Regions from separate parts of the Homo sapiens genome. Here regions 2 and 3 are each linked to region 1. The links are contacts of gene promoters, found by promoter capture Hi-C in blood cells and fetal thymus (Javierre and others, 2016). All regions are on one chromosome and are shown on one strand. The core of a region is centred on a gene start or on the middle of the fragment in contact, and the rest is flanking DNA. Distances in the headings are between cores, read along the strand shown.

Region 1 (5,070 bases), core at 677-3,176:
AATAACCTTTTCAAGAAGTTTAGCTGTGAAAGCACTTTGGGAGGCTGAGGCGGGTGGATCACGAGGTCAGGAGATTGAGACCATCCTGGCTTACACGGTGAAACCCCATCTCTACTAAAAATACAAAAAAAAATTAGCCGTGCGTGGTGGCGGGTGCCTGTAGTCCCAGCTACTCAGGAGGCTGAGGCAGGAAAATGGCGTGAACTCGGGAGGCGGAGCTTGCAGTGAACCGAGATCAGGCCACTGCACTCCAGCCTGGGTGACAGAGCAAGACTTCGTCACCAAAAAAAAAAAAAAAAAAAAAAAGTTTAGCTGTGAAGAGGAAGAGAGACAGTAGATGGGAGGGGATATGGAATCAAGGGAGAGATCTTTTAAGATGGGGATGGATTTAGAATGCGGTTTTAGTAGTCAAGAATTTATCATCTGGAGTTAGACATTTGGAGCTTCAACCCAAGTTTCTACACTTATTATCCAGCCACAGGCAAGCCGGCGTTACATGCATCTCCAAGTCTGTTTTGGCAACCGTGAAACAAGAATAATAATCTTTTAGTATTATAAAACACTGCTGTGAGAAATGAGAAATTAAATGAGGCAATAATCACAAACTATTTGGTAGGGGAACCAGGCATAATGACTTGGGAAAATGTTTAATTACTACTAGTTATAGAAAGAAAGCAGCAGAGAAATTGAAAATACGGGGAGAGGTCGGGCTCGGTGGATCACCTGAGGTCGTCAGGAGTTCGAGACCAGCCTGGCCAACACGGCGAAATCCCGTCTCTACTAAAAATACAAAATTAGCTGGGTGTGGTGGCGCATGCCTGTGATCCCAGCTACATGGGAGGCTGAAGCAGGAGAATCTCTTGAACCTGGGAGGTGGGGGTTGCAGTGAGCTGAGATTGCGCCATTGCACTCCAGCCTGGGGAACAAAAGTAAAACTCAATCTCAAAAAAAAAAAAAAAAAAGAAAAAAAAGAAAGAAAAGAAAAAGAAAATGCATTTGTTGAGGGCCCTGATAACCGCGGGGAATACAGCATCTGGTCCTGAACAAGAGAAGAAATCAGCCTTTGCAGGAAAGGGAGCCAAATTTCCTAACCATTTTCTCTGTCAAACAGGTGGGGAGATAATTTGATGAATGGGAGCTGTGGCGTGGGAAATATAAAGCGTGGACAAGGTTTTAAACGGCTGCAGTAGAGCAGAAGGATGGGAGAGGAGGCAGAAAAACAAATGATAGGTTGCAGAGATACAGCTAGAGTCCATAGAAGGAGATAAACATGGACTCTCTAATGCAAAGTTGAGCAATTTTCTCCAACAGTGCTCTGAAGTTCCGATGTAAAAGCCTAGAAGACTGATACCACGTCTGTGAGCAGATGCTGAAAGCAGAAGGCGGGAGAGCGCAGTTCGCAGCACGTGATGGGCAGCGCCTGGCCCAGGGGGAGCAGACGACCCAGACGACGGCCAGCGGGGTTGGCGGCGGCGCGGGGAGGAGGGGGCCGGATTTGGGAGACCACCGCCCGTCCCCGTCCCGTCCCGGAGCTTACCAGCAGGCCCTCCACGTTGATGGGGTCTCGGCACCGACGGCGAACCGTCTCCTCCGTCGGGTCCAGGAGGAGACTGGGTAACTTCCTCGCCGGCCGCTGCTGACTCATGCTGCCCGGCCGGGCGTCCTGCTCCCCTCGCACCCCACGAGCTCTCCCGCCCTCTCGCGCTCAGCTCGAGCACCGCCCCCCACGCGCCGATTTCCAAGGGCCCAGCACCTAAGGGGTCCGCGGCTTCCTCCGAGGCGCCGCCCGGCTAGGCCGTCCCGCCCGCCAGTAAACGCGGCACGGCCTCACGTGCCCGGGAGCTCCCGACGCAGACGGAAAAAGAGGAGGGAGACCCGCGGATCTCAAGTCGCCCGGCCCGCCATCTTCCCGCATGCGCAGTACACCGCCCCCCTCTGCGCATGCCCGCCGCTGCCGGAGCGCTCCCACGCACCGATCCTCTCCCGGCGGCTGCCGCCCGGGAAACCCGGACCGCGGAATCCACGGAGAGGCTGGCAAAGGAAAAGGAAGAGGTGGAGCCGAATTCCAGAGGAAGGGAACAGGGGTGAGAGAAAAGAGGCAACCGGGAAAACCCAGCGGTCGCCTGGAATTCTCGACGGTGATAACTGAAAGTTCTGAGGTGATAACTGAAAGTTCTGAGCCGCAGAGATGTTCATTTATTCCTTTTTTTTATTTTAATTTTTTTTTTGGTCGCCCAGGCTGGAGTGCAGTGGCGTGGTCAGGGCTCACTGCAGCCTTGAATTCCCGGGCTCAAGCGATCCTCCACCTCAGCCTCCCAAGTAGCTGGGACTACATGCGCGCGCCACTGTGCCTGGCTAATTTTTAATTTTAATTTTAGTAGAGACAGGGTCTCAGTATATTGCCCCGGCTGGTCCTGAACTCTGGGGCTCAAGCCGTCCTCCCACCTTGGCCTCTCAAGTGCTGGGATTATAGGCGTGAGCTACCACACCCAGCCTTCATTTATTCGTGAGCTCTGTTAGCGCATCTTACAGGCAGGTCAGTGTTGATGCTTAGTAAATGTGAGCAACCACACCATTGTGGAATCGTTTTACCTCTGCCTGCCCGCCTGCCTGCCTGCCTGCCTTCCTTCCTTCCTTCCTTCCTTCCTTCCTTCCTCCTTCCTGTTTGACGAATGAGTTATCGTTGACCTATAGTGTCAGATATTGGGGTGGGCACAGGCGATACTTATTCGTTTGAATATGCCACGGGTTCAACCTCCAATTTCAGTGGGGACAGATAAGTAAACAGAGCATGTTAATTTAGCTGGAGCCAGAAGGTGTGTTTTCAAGTCCTGGCTGCCTCTACGTATAAACTAGAAGACCTTATTAAGCCAGTTACTTAATCTGTCTGTGCCTCAGTTTCCTTATTTGGAAAATGCAAATAATGACAATACTTACCTGATAAGGTTGTTGTGAGGATTAAATGGATTAATGGATACAGGTTGCTGTGATTAGAACAGAGGCCAGCACATGTTTGAAATAAAAAGGCAACACACCGTGGTATGTACAGAGTTGGAGGGAAACAACTGGTTAGACTGGGGGTTTCTACACAGCCTGAGGTGGGCGAGGTGAGGCAGGGAAAAATCCCCGAAGAAGCTGGTTCCCCACTAGACTGTGAGGTCAGAGGCCTTCTCTAATCTTTTTTTTTTTTTTTCTGTCACCCAGGCTGGAGGGCAGTGTCACGGTCATAATTCACTGTAGCGTCAAACTCCTGGCCTCAAGTGATCTCCCAGCTAAGACTCCCAAGTAGCTGAGAGTACAGGTGCATGCCACCATGCCTGGCTAATTTTTTTTTATGTTTTATTTTATTTTATTTTTTGAACTCCTTACCTTAAGCAATCCTCCTGCCTCAGCCTCCCAAGGTGCTGGAGTTATAGGCGTGAGACACCCATGCCTGGCTTCTAATCTTTGTATCTCTATCATCTAGCAAAGTGTCTGGCAAATAAAACATGCTCTATTAATGTTTGCTAAATAAACGATGAGAAAAAAAGAGAACGTAGCGGAGGTCTCGAGAAGACTGCATATTGTTGCAGAATGGAGAATTTCCCAGAGCCGTTAGAAATGGCCATTTGAAGGCATTTATTCAGCATCTGCTATGTGTTTGGCATTCCACATGCATTTGCTTATGTAAATCTCATATCAAAACTGAAAGATAGGTATTTTTCTGCCCAATTTGCAGATCAGCAAAATTAAGATCAGCAGGATTACAAAAATTTACTCAAGGTCCTAGTAGGCAGTGGTAGAGGCAGGCTTTGACTCCACAACTGATTAATTAATTTGGCATTCAGATCTTTAGGAAGATTCTTCAAGGACGACTAGATTCTCTACAACCAGAGTTGGGGTTGGGCAAGTAAAGGTGGGGTGTGGATCAGGACGGAGTAGCAAGTGGTCCAGGCTAAAGAAAGAGCATGAGCACAGAGCTGGGGAGAGTCGGGGAAATGGCACAATCCTCACACTTATTGTGCCTGTGACCTGGCTTTTCCCCAAGACATAATCTTTTGCACATTTTTTTTTTTGAAGCATCTCTCATGGGCCAAGCAGTAGGGTAGGTGTTGAGGGAAGAACTGAATCTGATGGGGCCTTACCTTGTGTTCCAGGGGCTACTAGCCTGGGGGAGATACATAAGCAGAAAGCATAAGTACTAAATTAGAGTGTGTCTAACACACAATAGCAGCACAGCAGAGGAAGAAAAAATAATAACTGAATTAGTTGTAAACTACAGGTGCTTTTCCACATCTGCCTGTGAGGCAGCTATTTCAAGAATACTTTATAGAAGGCCGGGCATGGTGGCTCACACCTATAATCTCAGCACTTTGGGAGGCTGAGGCAGGAGGCTCACTTGATTGAGGTCAGGAGTTTGAGACCAGCCTGACCATCATGGCGCAACCCTGTCTCTTCTATAAATACAAAAATTAGCCGGGCGTGGTGGCAGGCGACTGTAATCCCAGCTACTAAGGAGGCTGAGGCAAGAGAATCGCTTGAACTTGGGAGGTAGAGGTTGCAGTGAGCTAAGATCATGCCACTGCACTCCAGCCTGGGTGACACAGCAAGACCCTGTCTCAAAAAAAAAAAAAAAAAAAAAATATATATATATATATATATATATGAGGGTACAGAGGCTCAGAGAAGTTTGTTCCAGGTTGGGTACTCAAATACCAGGACTTTGGCCACTACATCCTTGGCTTTGTCCACCATGGCCTTACATTGATATACAGTCACAGTTCTGAGCACAGAAATTCTGGTATTTCCCAGTTCCAGCCCTGTTTTTGTGTATGCTTCCTGGGGCAAAATGGTGCTAGGGCAGAATGGGGCATGGGCTTTGGGACTTTCAAGTTAGGGCTGAAGACTATACTTCCCAGGGATCATTTTTAAAGTTAGGGCTGAAATATTAGGCCAACTGCACAGGTGTGCTTGAGCAATCCTGAAAGCCCTCATCTGTCAGAAGATATTTTACTTCCCTTCTACTTGAAAATGTCCTCTCCAGAGGTCCGTGAGGAAATGACCATATCCACTAGGGCTTTCTGTGATGAT
Region 2 (5,070 bases), core at 1,748-4,247, 1.6 Mb after region 1:
AGCAGTAGATATCTTGCCTCAGGGCAGAGAACAAAGAGCAATTCCAGATGGCATCCTGGAGATGGGAGAGGAAATTCACTAATAATTATAGATTACAGGGATAAACATTGACTCTATTGAATATCCTGGCAAAACAGATCCCTTTAATAGACAGTCAGAGATTGTGCTGATACTTTAAAATAATGGAACTTAGACATACCTGGATAGAAAGAAGAGAAAATGCTCTGAACTTGGAGAAAATTGATTTTATTTTTTTATTTACAGAGCTACAGTTTGAAGAGAGAAGCAAAATTGAAAAATTAATGTTAAAACTGACATTAAAAACTTCTATTTTTAAAGGTGAATTAAAGTCTTAAAGGAATCTGAAAGTACAGTGAAAAGAGATTGAAATAATATGGTAGTGTAAACTCAAAATATCAATATACTGTGATAGAAAGGACAAAGAATTTGGAGTTACTGAGACTGTAAGTTAAAGCCTGCTCTTATCTGTTAACTGGGACATGATACTTGAGTCTTAGTGCCCTCATTTGTACTGATAACAGTTTATTATCTTTTCATTTTTTTCAGATTTGAATAAGAGACCATAAGTAAATTTCCTGAGACAGGATCTCAAATCAATTTTTTAAAAATCACAATTATATATTACTCTGAACATACAATAAGAGGGCTCCGAAGCAAATTTCCTAACAGTGAAAAATTGGTTTGATTTGGTCTTTGAAATTGCCAGCTGCTGTCAGAGCATTCTGGTCCTTGAACAAACACGCATAAAGTGTTTTCCCTGGTGCTAGGAAGTGTTCATTGAAAAACAGCTGTTGGCATCTGAATACATTACATATGATGCTAACAAGACCTTACTTTTGTATAATACTTTACACTTCTTTTAAAGCACTTTGTTTAATTTCATCTACAAAGGAAAGGCATTATTTCCCTCTCTAACAAATTTAGAAATGGATACATCCATTAAGGGGTAATGCAATTTCCCAGTCAAGAAACAGTTTAAGTATTTGTTAGACTGTCTTGATGTCACAGTTTCTGGCTTTTAGAATTGTGTTCCAGGGTAGTGTGACAGAGGCTTGTGGTTGGATAATATTGTGGGGAGAGATTCCCTAGTACTCAGAACCTTTCTAAATGCAAGACAATGGATGACCCTCTGAAAAATGGGATTAGACCATGAGAGCCAAAGTAAATCACTCTGAGACACAGCAGGTCTCCACTACAATGGCTCTCTGAGAACTGAAGGCAGAGCAGTGAGATTGAGAGAAGTCTCTTGATACACAGAAAGCTAGTGGAGAAAATATAAAGCAAAGAAAATTGCATGGTAAGCAAACAGCTGGCAAGCAGAAGATAGAGGTGAATAAGTATTTTCTATCAGCCTTCAAGGCTGATAGCTAAGGCGAAAAAACAAAGAAATCTCCAGAATCTTGTTGGGATAATCGCAATGTCATGCCAAGTGAAAAGTTTAATTCTGCCTTTGAAATATTTGAAATGATTTGAGAACTAGTCAGTGCTGCAGCAAAGCTCAGACCTAGCTTCAGTGCAGATTAGATTCACCTAGCCACTGCCTTGACAACCTAACAGACGGTCATGTACTTCTTTGGAAGATAAATATTATTTTCTTCAGGTCTGTACTGTTCTCTTACATATAATCCTTAGCACACAGATATAAACAATGAGAAAAGCAAAAGAGATGACAATTGCAACCCACAATTAAGATAAAATATAGTCAAGTCAATACAAGCAGGACCAGAGTTGGACTAGAGGCAAGAATGATCAAACAATGATGTTGAAATCATCAAGATAATTACTTTAACAAATACAGTGGGGAAGAAAGACAAGAGTGAAGAAATAGGTAATTTCAGCATATCCATGAAAATATTATTCATAAAATTAAAACACTAGGAATGGAGAACCCAATATCAGAAATAAAAAGGTCATTGGGTGGGCTAAAGAGCAGACAGGACATGAAAGGAGAACATACTAGTGAATTTGAAGACCAGTCATGATAACATCTGAGAAGGTAGTACCTAAGAAATTTCGAAATTGAAAGATAACAACCCCCAAATCCAAGCAGTTGACCCAAGCACAATAAATACAAAAAAAAAAAAAAAAATACCCAGGAAAAGCTTAGTCAAAACTCGGGGGGAAATGCAAGATATAGAAATAGTCTTAAAAGCAGCCAGAAAGGAAAAATAAAAACACGAAAGAAGACAGCTTACATAAAAGGACAAATAATAAGAGTGATAGCTAAATTATCGTAAGAAATCATCATGAATAGAAGACAATTGAATGGTATGTTTAAAATGCTGAGAAAAAAATGAACTTTCAGCCTAGGACTTATATAGTGAGAATATCTTCCATAAATATATAAAGAAATATAAGTTTAAAACAGAAACACACTACAGTTGACCCTTCAACAACATTGATTTGAACTCTGTGGGTCCACTTATACGTGGATTTTTTTCAATAAATAATTTGAAAAATTTTGGAGATTTGTGACAATTTGCAAAAACTTGCAGACTAACCACGTAGCCTAGAAGTATAAAAATAAATTAAGAAAATGTTAGGTATGTCATTAATACATAAAATACATGCAGATACTAGTCTACTTTTTCATTTGCTACCATAAAATAGTACATAAATCTATCATAAAAAGTTAAAATTTATCAAAACTTAAACACACAAATGCTTGTAAACCATACATGGCACCATTTGCAGTCAAGAGAAATGTAAAGAAGTGTAAAGATGAAGAATCAAATTCTGACTGCATAAAATTAAGTGTAATAATACTGTACTACGGTAATCATTTCATAGCCACCTCCTGTTGTTGTTGTGGTGAGCTCATGTTACATCTGCATAGAATGCCATACTATGCTAAAAACCTCCACCTGAGCAGCTCATCACTCCAGTAAATTGTGTACCACGGTAAAAAGTGAGTTCTCACAGTTCTTATGTATTTTTCATCATGTTTAGTGCAATCCTATAACCTTGAATTACACCATGGGACCCCATACAAAGTGCCTCCAAGAAGCCAAGAAAAGTCATGGCATTACAAGAAAAAGTTGAATTGCTTGATATGTACCATAGATTGTTGTCTGCTATTGCGGTTTCCTACCATTTAAAGATAAATGAATCCAGCATAAGGACTGAAGCTGTTGCTGCAGCTATGTCAACAGGTGCAAAAATCTTGTACTTTTTGTGAAATATCCTTTTATATCATATTGAAAATGCAGCTTTTATGTGGTGCAGGATTGCCATAAGCAAAGCATACCTATAGATTTGAATATGATTCTAGGAAAAGCAAAGTCATTATATGGTAACTTAAAGCAAAAAAAAAAAAATAAAAATAAAAAGGTAAAAGATCTAAAGTTAAATAATTTAATGCCAGAAAGGGATGGTTTGATAATTTTGAAACAGATTTCAGCAAAAAAAAAGTCAAGATAACAAACAAAACAGTTTATGCTGACCAAGAGACAGCAGACAAGTTCCCAGATGTTATTAAGAAAACCATTGAGGAGGAAGGATGTTGGTCTGAACAGGTTTTTTTATGAGGATGAAATTGCTCAACCTGGAAAAAAAATTGGCACAAAGGACATTTATTAGTAAGGAAGAGAAATGGGCACTAAGATTTAAAGCAGGAAGGGATAACTGACCTCTAATATGTTGTGCAAATGCCGCTGGGTTTCTGATGAGGACTGCTCTTATCTGTAAAGCTGCTAACCCCTGAGTCTTGAAGAACAAAGATAAACACCAGCCGCCAGTCTTCTGACTGTACAACAAGTTGGCCTGGACAATCAAAACTCCTTCTTAACTGGTTCCATTGATGCTTTGTCCCTAAAGTCAGGAAGTACCTTCCTAGTAAGGGATTGCCTTTTAAAGCTTTTGATAATAGATCATGCTTCTTGCCATCCAGAAGCCCTAGAGGTCAACACTGAAATCACTGAAGTGATCTACTTGTCCCTAAACACAGTGTTTCTAATTCAGCCTCTAGATCGGGAGGTCAGAAGGACTGTTAATGCTCATTACACATGGTACTCTATGGAAAGGATTGTCAATGCTGTGGAAGGGAACACTGATAGAGAAAACATTATGAATGTCTAGAAGGGTCACACCATTGAAAATGCCATTATTGCTATGGAAAAATTCATGAAAGCCATCAAGCCCAAAACAATACATTTCTATGGGAGAAAACTGGGTCCAGGTGTTGTGAATGACTTCACTGGGTTTACAACAGAGCCAATCAAAGAAATAATGAAAGAGATTATGCATATGGCAAAAAAAAAAAAGGTGGGTGTGAAGGGTTTCAAGGTATAAGTCTTGAGAGAAATTCAAAAGTGAAAAGATACCACACTGGAGGAATTAACAGAAGACAACTTGGATGGAGTTGAGTGCTTCTGAACCAGTATCAGATGATGAGGAGGGAGATGGAAAAAACAGTGCAGAAAACAAATTGTTATTAGACAATCTGGAAGAATCATTCTGATTATTCAAGACTACTTTGAAATGCTTTTACAGCATAGATAGACCCTTGTAGGATATGGGCACTGAGACTACAACAAATGGTGGGGGAAGAATTGGTACCATATAGAAATATTTGTAGATAAATTAAAAAGCAAAAATGTTGACAGAAATTATGATGTATTTCCATAAAGTTACACCACGTGCCTCTCTCTCCTGTCTCTTCCTTCTACCTCTTCAGCCTCTACCAGTTCTAAGACAGCAAGACCAAAACCTCTCTTCCTTTTTCTCAGCCTAGTCAACGTGAAGATGAGAATATAGACTTTCATGATGATCCACTTTCACTTAATAAATAGTAAATATATTTTCTCTTCCTTATAATTTTCTTAATAACATTTTCTTTTCTCTAGCTAACTTTACTGTAAGACTATAGTACGTAATACATCTAACATACAAAATACATGGTAATAAAGTGTTTATGTTTTCGGTACGGCTTCTTGTCAGCAGTAGTCTATTAGTAGTTAAGTTTGGGGGAAGTCAAAAGCTATACATCAATTTGTGACTATGGAGGAAGTTGGTTCCCCCTAACCTCATGTTGTTTATGGGTCTACTGTA
Region 3 (5,070 bases), core at 677-3,176, 1.5 Mb after region 1:
AAAAAATACAGCAACTTCTCACTGTGTCCTCACATGGTAGATAGAATGGACAAGGGAGCTATCTGAAGCCTCTTTTATAAGGGCATTAATCTCACTTAAGGGGACTGATTATTTGCCCAAATCTTCACCTTCTAATACCATGACCTTGGGGTTTGAGGTTTCAGTATATAAATTTTGGGGGACAAAAACATTCAGACTATCACACATACATTTTAATAGGGAGTTGATGTCAGAAATCACCAGTGAGGTAATAGGAAAATAAGACAAAGAAGGAAAGCAGTCAGTAATGGATGGATTAGTGAACATGCTACCGCTGTTGGTTTTGAAAGCTTAACCTAACTGTGGAGCTCTGGGGTCCAGTGTAGAACACATGCATTTGAGTTGTCCAGTCTCAGAGGCAAGAGAGCCAGGATATCCATACACTAAATCCTGGGAGGGGGATTAGTTTCTTGGTATTTCCAGCCATTTGCACACAGGCGGAACAGATTCCAGCAACCAGAGATAGTCTCCAGGCAGAAAGATACAGGCTTAGATGCTTGAAAAAGTGTTTCAGGCTGTGGCAATTATAAGGACTTAGGGGATATTGATGGAGGATTCACATAGTCAGCTACGTAACATTTTCATGCCTCTGTGTCTTCCTAAGGCTATCCCATTTGCTTGGGTGCTATCTTGCCCGTGCCTTCGATACCCAACTAATTTCTTCTCATTCTTCCTTTGTTAGTTTGAACATAAATTATTCTTTATGCTTTCTTTGGCCTCCCAAATCTGTGCTAGTCACCTCTTCTGGTGACTAGCACAGATTTGGAAAAAAAAGGTATATACCCTTTTTTCCACTATCTTAGTTAGAATTTATTACACCAACAGGTTAGTGAAGAGAATGTGATAAGTAGATACACATAAAAATATTGTCATAGAGTTATTGGAAGTAGATGGGTTGTTCATGATTAGAAATATCCAAGAAAGCTCACTGGGAGGCACAATATTTAAATTGATCCTTGGGAATAAAAAGAAATAAACTTTTAACAAAGACACTGAGGTAGTTCAGGCTTATTGGTGAAATGGTAGACATAACAGTATGACTGGGATACAGATGTCATAACAAAATGTAGAGGGAGACCCAGTTCCTAATACCAGCATGATAATGTGAGCCTACAAGCCATGTCAGATTTGGGCCATGTAAATATTTGATGAGAGAAATTGATAAGTACAACAGCAAAACAATGACAAAGTCACATACATGCATACACAGCAAAGATACTATGTATCTTAATTGTCCTAAACATGCTAAGGAAATTGTAGGTGCAGAATTGACCTTTTTAGTTTATATGACTGCTTATTATTCTTCATCAGGCAAACTGTTGTGGTGTCCAAAGACTTAAAAGTGAAATGACTTTAAAGAGCAAAAAGGTTTTGTTCTATACAAATGCATTGCAAATCACTTATTGTAGATCTATATTAGCTCAACTGTTTTAGGCTTTCAGGAATCATAAAACATTAACACATAAAGATCTTATGGTCTCTGATTTATAAAATATATTTCATCATATACTTCTACACTGAATGTTTAATTATATTTATTATGAAAAGATATGACTTTTTTGTGTAATTAAAATCATTGTATGTGTATAGTAGAAATGTAATTATAACAATTATATTACATAAAGAGAAATATTATAAAAAAGAGACAATTAGGTATTTTGCTCAAACAAATTAAATTTCACAACTATATGTGATACATAATTACCAGTTACTCTTAAAAGCTTTTACTGACAGTGTGTGTCTCAAAATAGAATGCAGCCTAAAACTCTAGCCTAGATTGAAGTGTGGTTGTTTTAAGACTTAGAGAGGAAAGAACCAATAATAATGTTGACCTCTTGCCATGTAGTAGAATTAAGTAGAACACATGTGAGTCTCAGGATGTACCTCAGAGCTGAGAGAAATACAGGTTCATAAACACATGTGGGAAAGAAGTACTTCAGCAGAAGGCTGGATGGTGTCTGGGCAGTCAGGTGGATTCAGAGGATGGCTGGGCTTCCCTGGAAATTATCAGCATTTTCTTTGTAAGGGAGCTTGAAATTCTGGGTTTTATACTTAAGCTTACTGAGAAATAAGTTCCTGAAGATACATATTCAGAAAAAAATCAAGGAAGTAAAACTCACCTTCTACATTTGCTTTACTTTTAATGTAGAACCTGCAGATTATTATTGGATTCTTTTATTATTATTTTATTTGTTTATAATATTTGGTCTTAGATTATTAATTGATTTACTTTTATGAATTTATTTATAATAGTCTTGATTTTTCCAAGAAATATATAAAACAACTTAAATTATTAAGGCATATGAAAATTGGAAATAAGCAAGTTGTAGAAAGGGAAATTCAGAGGAAATTTAGCCAAAATAACTTCTCTAGAAGATCAGAAGTTGTTACTACAACCAAAGAGCGCTTTTAATCTTTGTACCCAGGAAGCTAAATCAGAAAAAGAACATTCAAAGCTGTGTGATCTTCAGCAATTTAGTCAAAGTCTTTAAGAACCATTTTTTTAAGTATGAAAATGGAGTTAATAAAACATCCGTACCATATCTGGTAGTTGTGAGGATAAAATGAGAGAATGTGTGAGTCTTGGCACGTTACATGGGAAATGCCAAAAGCTCAAATATTAGCCTATGTCTTCCTCCTTCTACTCTTTTTCCTTCCCTACTTCTTCTTGCTAATCCTCCTCTGCCTCTTTTTAGCCCATCTTCTTTTCCCTCTTCCCAACTTATTTTATTATTAAGAAAATTTAGTTTTCCTTGGGAGGCCGAGGTGGGTGGATCACGTGGTCAAGAGATTGAGACCATCCTGGCCAACATGGTGAAACCCCCCATCTCTACTAAAAATACAAAAATTAGCTGGGGGTGGTGGCACACACCTGTAGTCCCAGCTACTGGGGAGATTGAGGCAGGAGAATCACTTGAACTCAGGAAGTGGAGGTTGCAGTGAGCTGAGATCGTGCCACTGCACTCCAGCCTGGCGACAGAGCAAGACTCCATCTCAAAAATAATAATAATAATAATAATTATTATTATTATTATTTTCCAGCAAGAAATGAAAAGAAAAAATATTCATTGAGGAAATATTTTAAATCAATTACTATCTAGACACTAGAGATACACCAATAGTAAGTTATCTATTTTTATGGAGTTTATATTCTTCCTTACAACAAAAGTCATAATATTGTTTACAAAGGCTTTGTGAGGAATACATAAGTTAATGGATGTGCAGGGAACAGCACAATACCTGACTGTTGTTATCATTATTAATAACATAGACCTTATCATTATTATCAATATTACACTAGCATTAGTAATTGTAATAATAATAGTTGTAGTTATAGTTGAAGTGATCGCAGTTGTCATTATATTCATTGTAATAGTCATTGTCATCATTGTAGTGGTCTTTCTAATTTCAATGACACGAATATTATACCAGTGTACATTTCAGGAATGACTAAAGAGTTAATTGTAGACAAACTATTTCACACAACTCGGATAATGCTTAGACAGTAACTAACTCTAATGGAAAATTCCAAGTACTAAGCCACTGCCATATGATACTCTAGAGTTTTTACAAGTGGGCAACATTCGTGATCTAAATTCTGAAGACTTCCAACAAGAAGGACATATTGGTCACCAGAATGTGCGTGTGTGTTTGTGTGCATGCATGTGTGTGTGCATGTGTGTGTGTTTCATTGACTTTGTATAACCAAGGAAAAGGCAGCTTCCTTTACTCCTTGAAAACAGTGATAAGAAGTTGTTCTATGGGTGTTATTCCAATAACAGCTTATTTCTGATTATAATTATTTCTCTCTTTTACTGATGGCAAATTTATTTCCCACATAATGTTGATTCTCAATTTCCTTTTGTACATGATTCCCCCAAATTTAGCTGAGACTGGTTTCTTTGGAAATATTAGTGTCACCAGTTCCCCATGCTCTGTCAAAATGAAACAAAAACAAATTAAAATGACTACTGAACAAATATTCAATGTACTATATATGATATATATGTTATATATCCATTCCCATGATCCAAATGCCTCCCACCAGGCCCCACCTCCAGCACTGGGGATTATAATTCAACTTAAGATTTGGGTGGGGACAAATATTCAAACTATGTCAACCTCTGTTCCAGATTTTCTTCAAGGCAATTCTATGTCCTTATAAACACAAAGTCCTTTCTTAGACATAATTCTCATTTCTTTGCTTTTCGACCTCTTCCTATTCTTCTTCCAAACTTAATGGTGGCCACCTCAATGCTATCTGAAATGAGAGTTGGGAAGGCCATTGTGTGCATTAAAGGCTGCCCCCGATTGGAGTTATTTAGTTCAACTGCAAAGACTTACTGGACTCCAGTCACTAAAAATCTCTTTCAATCTTATGTGTTGCTATTTGGAGTCTGGTAGCAGCCTGCATTTTCAATGCTGTAGGACTCTGGACCTTTGGATTTTTTCCAGTTGTCTTGGATATCTACTTAAAAGTCAGGCAATACTTGCCTGAGCTCCCCTTTTTTTGTAATACTGTGCCAAATACAGTCAATAGAATTTGACAGTCACTGTGACTTTTTCCAACTACTTTCCCTGAGAGTTACAGAAATCAAGTAGTCTAAATTAAAGCAATTACTTACCAATGTTTGTCATAGAAAAACAAATATTTCCAGTCTTCTTGCCTAATATATATATATATGTGTGTGTGTATGTGTGTGTATATATATACACATACATACATATATATATATACACATACATACATACATATCTATACACATACATACATATATATATATCTGAGGCAGCCTTTAAACATATAAATAAATATATACGTGTATATATATGTTTGGCCAGAAGACTGCAGATATATATATATATACACACGCACACAATTGCCACCCACAAACCAATCACTAAGCCAAGGCCAAGGTGTCTATCTGTATAATAGTTGAGGGTAACATATGCTGCTGAAACAAATAAACCCCCAAACCTCAGTAGCTTAACATGATCAGTTTATTTTTCAGCCACCTAAAGTCCAATAAG

Evidence for each region. The method cuts DNA at HindIII sites, captures the fragments that hold promoters and counts their contacts. A CHiCAGO score of 5 or more calls a contact.
Region 2: a contact is called between a fragment that was not itself captured here and the fragment with the promoter of E2F6 in region 1, in 3 of 17 cell types (total B cells, naive B cells and total CD4 T cells). The highest score is 13.2, in total B cells.
Region 3: a contact is called between a fragment that was not itself captured here and the fragment with the promoter of E2F6 in region 1, in 2 of 17 cell types (naive B cells and total B cells). The highest score is 9.4, in naive B cells.

Annotation. Positions count from the first base shown.
Region 1 is chr2:11,464,235-11,469,304 of GRCh38, forward strand. E2F6 (E2F transcription factor 6) reads right to left here and starts at 1,927. Exons shown (of 7, transcript NM_198256.4): 1 at 1,538-1,927. The coding sequence starts at 1,645. RefSeq lists enhancers at 1,121-1,678, 1,679-2,235, 2,663-2,742. The HindIII fragment of the contact is 15,644 bases long and covers 1-5,070 here.
Region 2 is chr2:13,014,948-13,020,017 of GRCh38, forward strand. All of the region lies in intron 1 of LOC105373436 (a long non-coding RNA gene), which reads left to right. Among named protein-coding and RNA genes, the nearest start is that of MIR3125, 280 kb to the left of the region's middle. The HindIII fragment of the contact is 1,753 bases long and covers 2,122-3,874 here.
Region 3 is chr2:12,994,418-12,999,487 of GRCh38, forward strand. All of the region lies in intron 4 of LOC100506474 (a long non-coding RNA gene), which reads right to left. Among named protein-coding and RNA genes, the nearest start is that of MIR3125, 260 kb to the left of the region's middle. The HindIII fragment of the contact is 336 bases long and covers 1,759-2,094 here.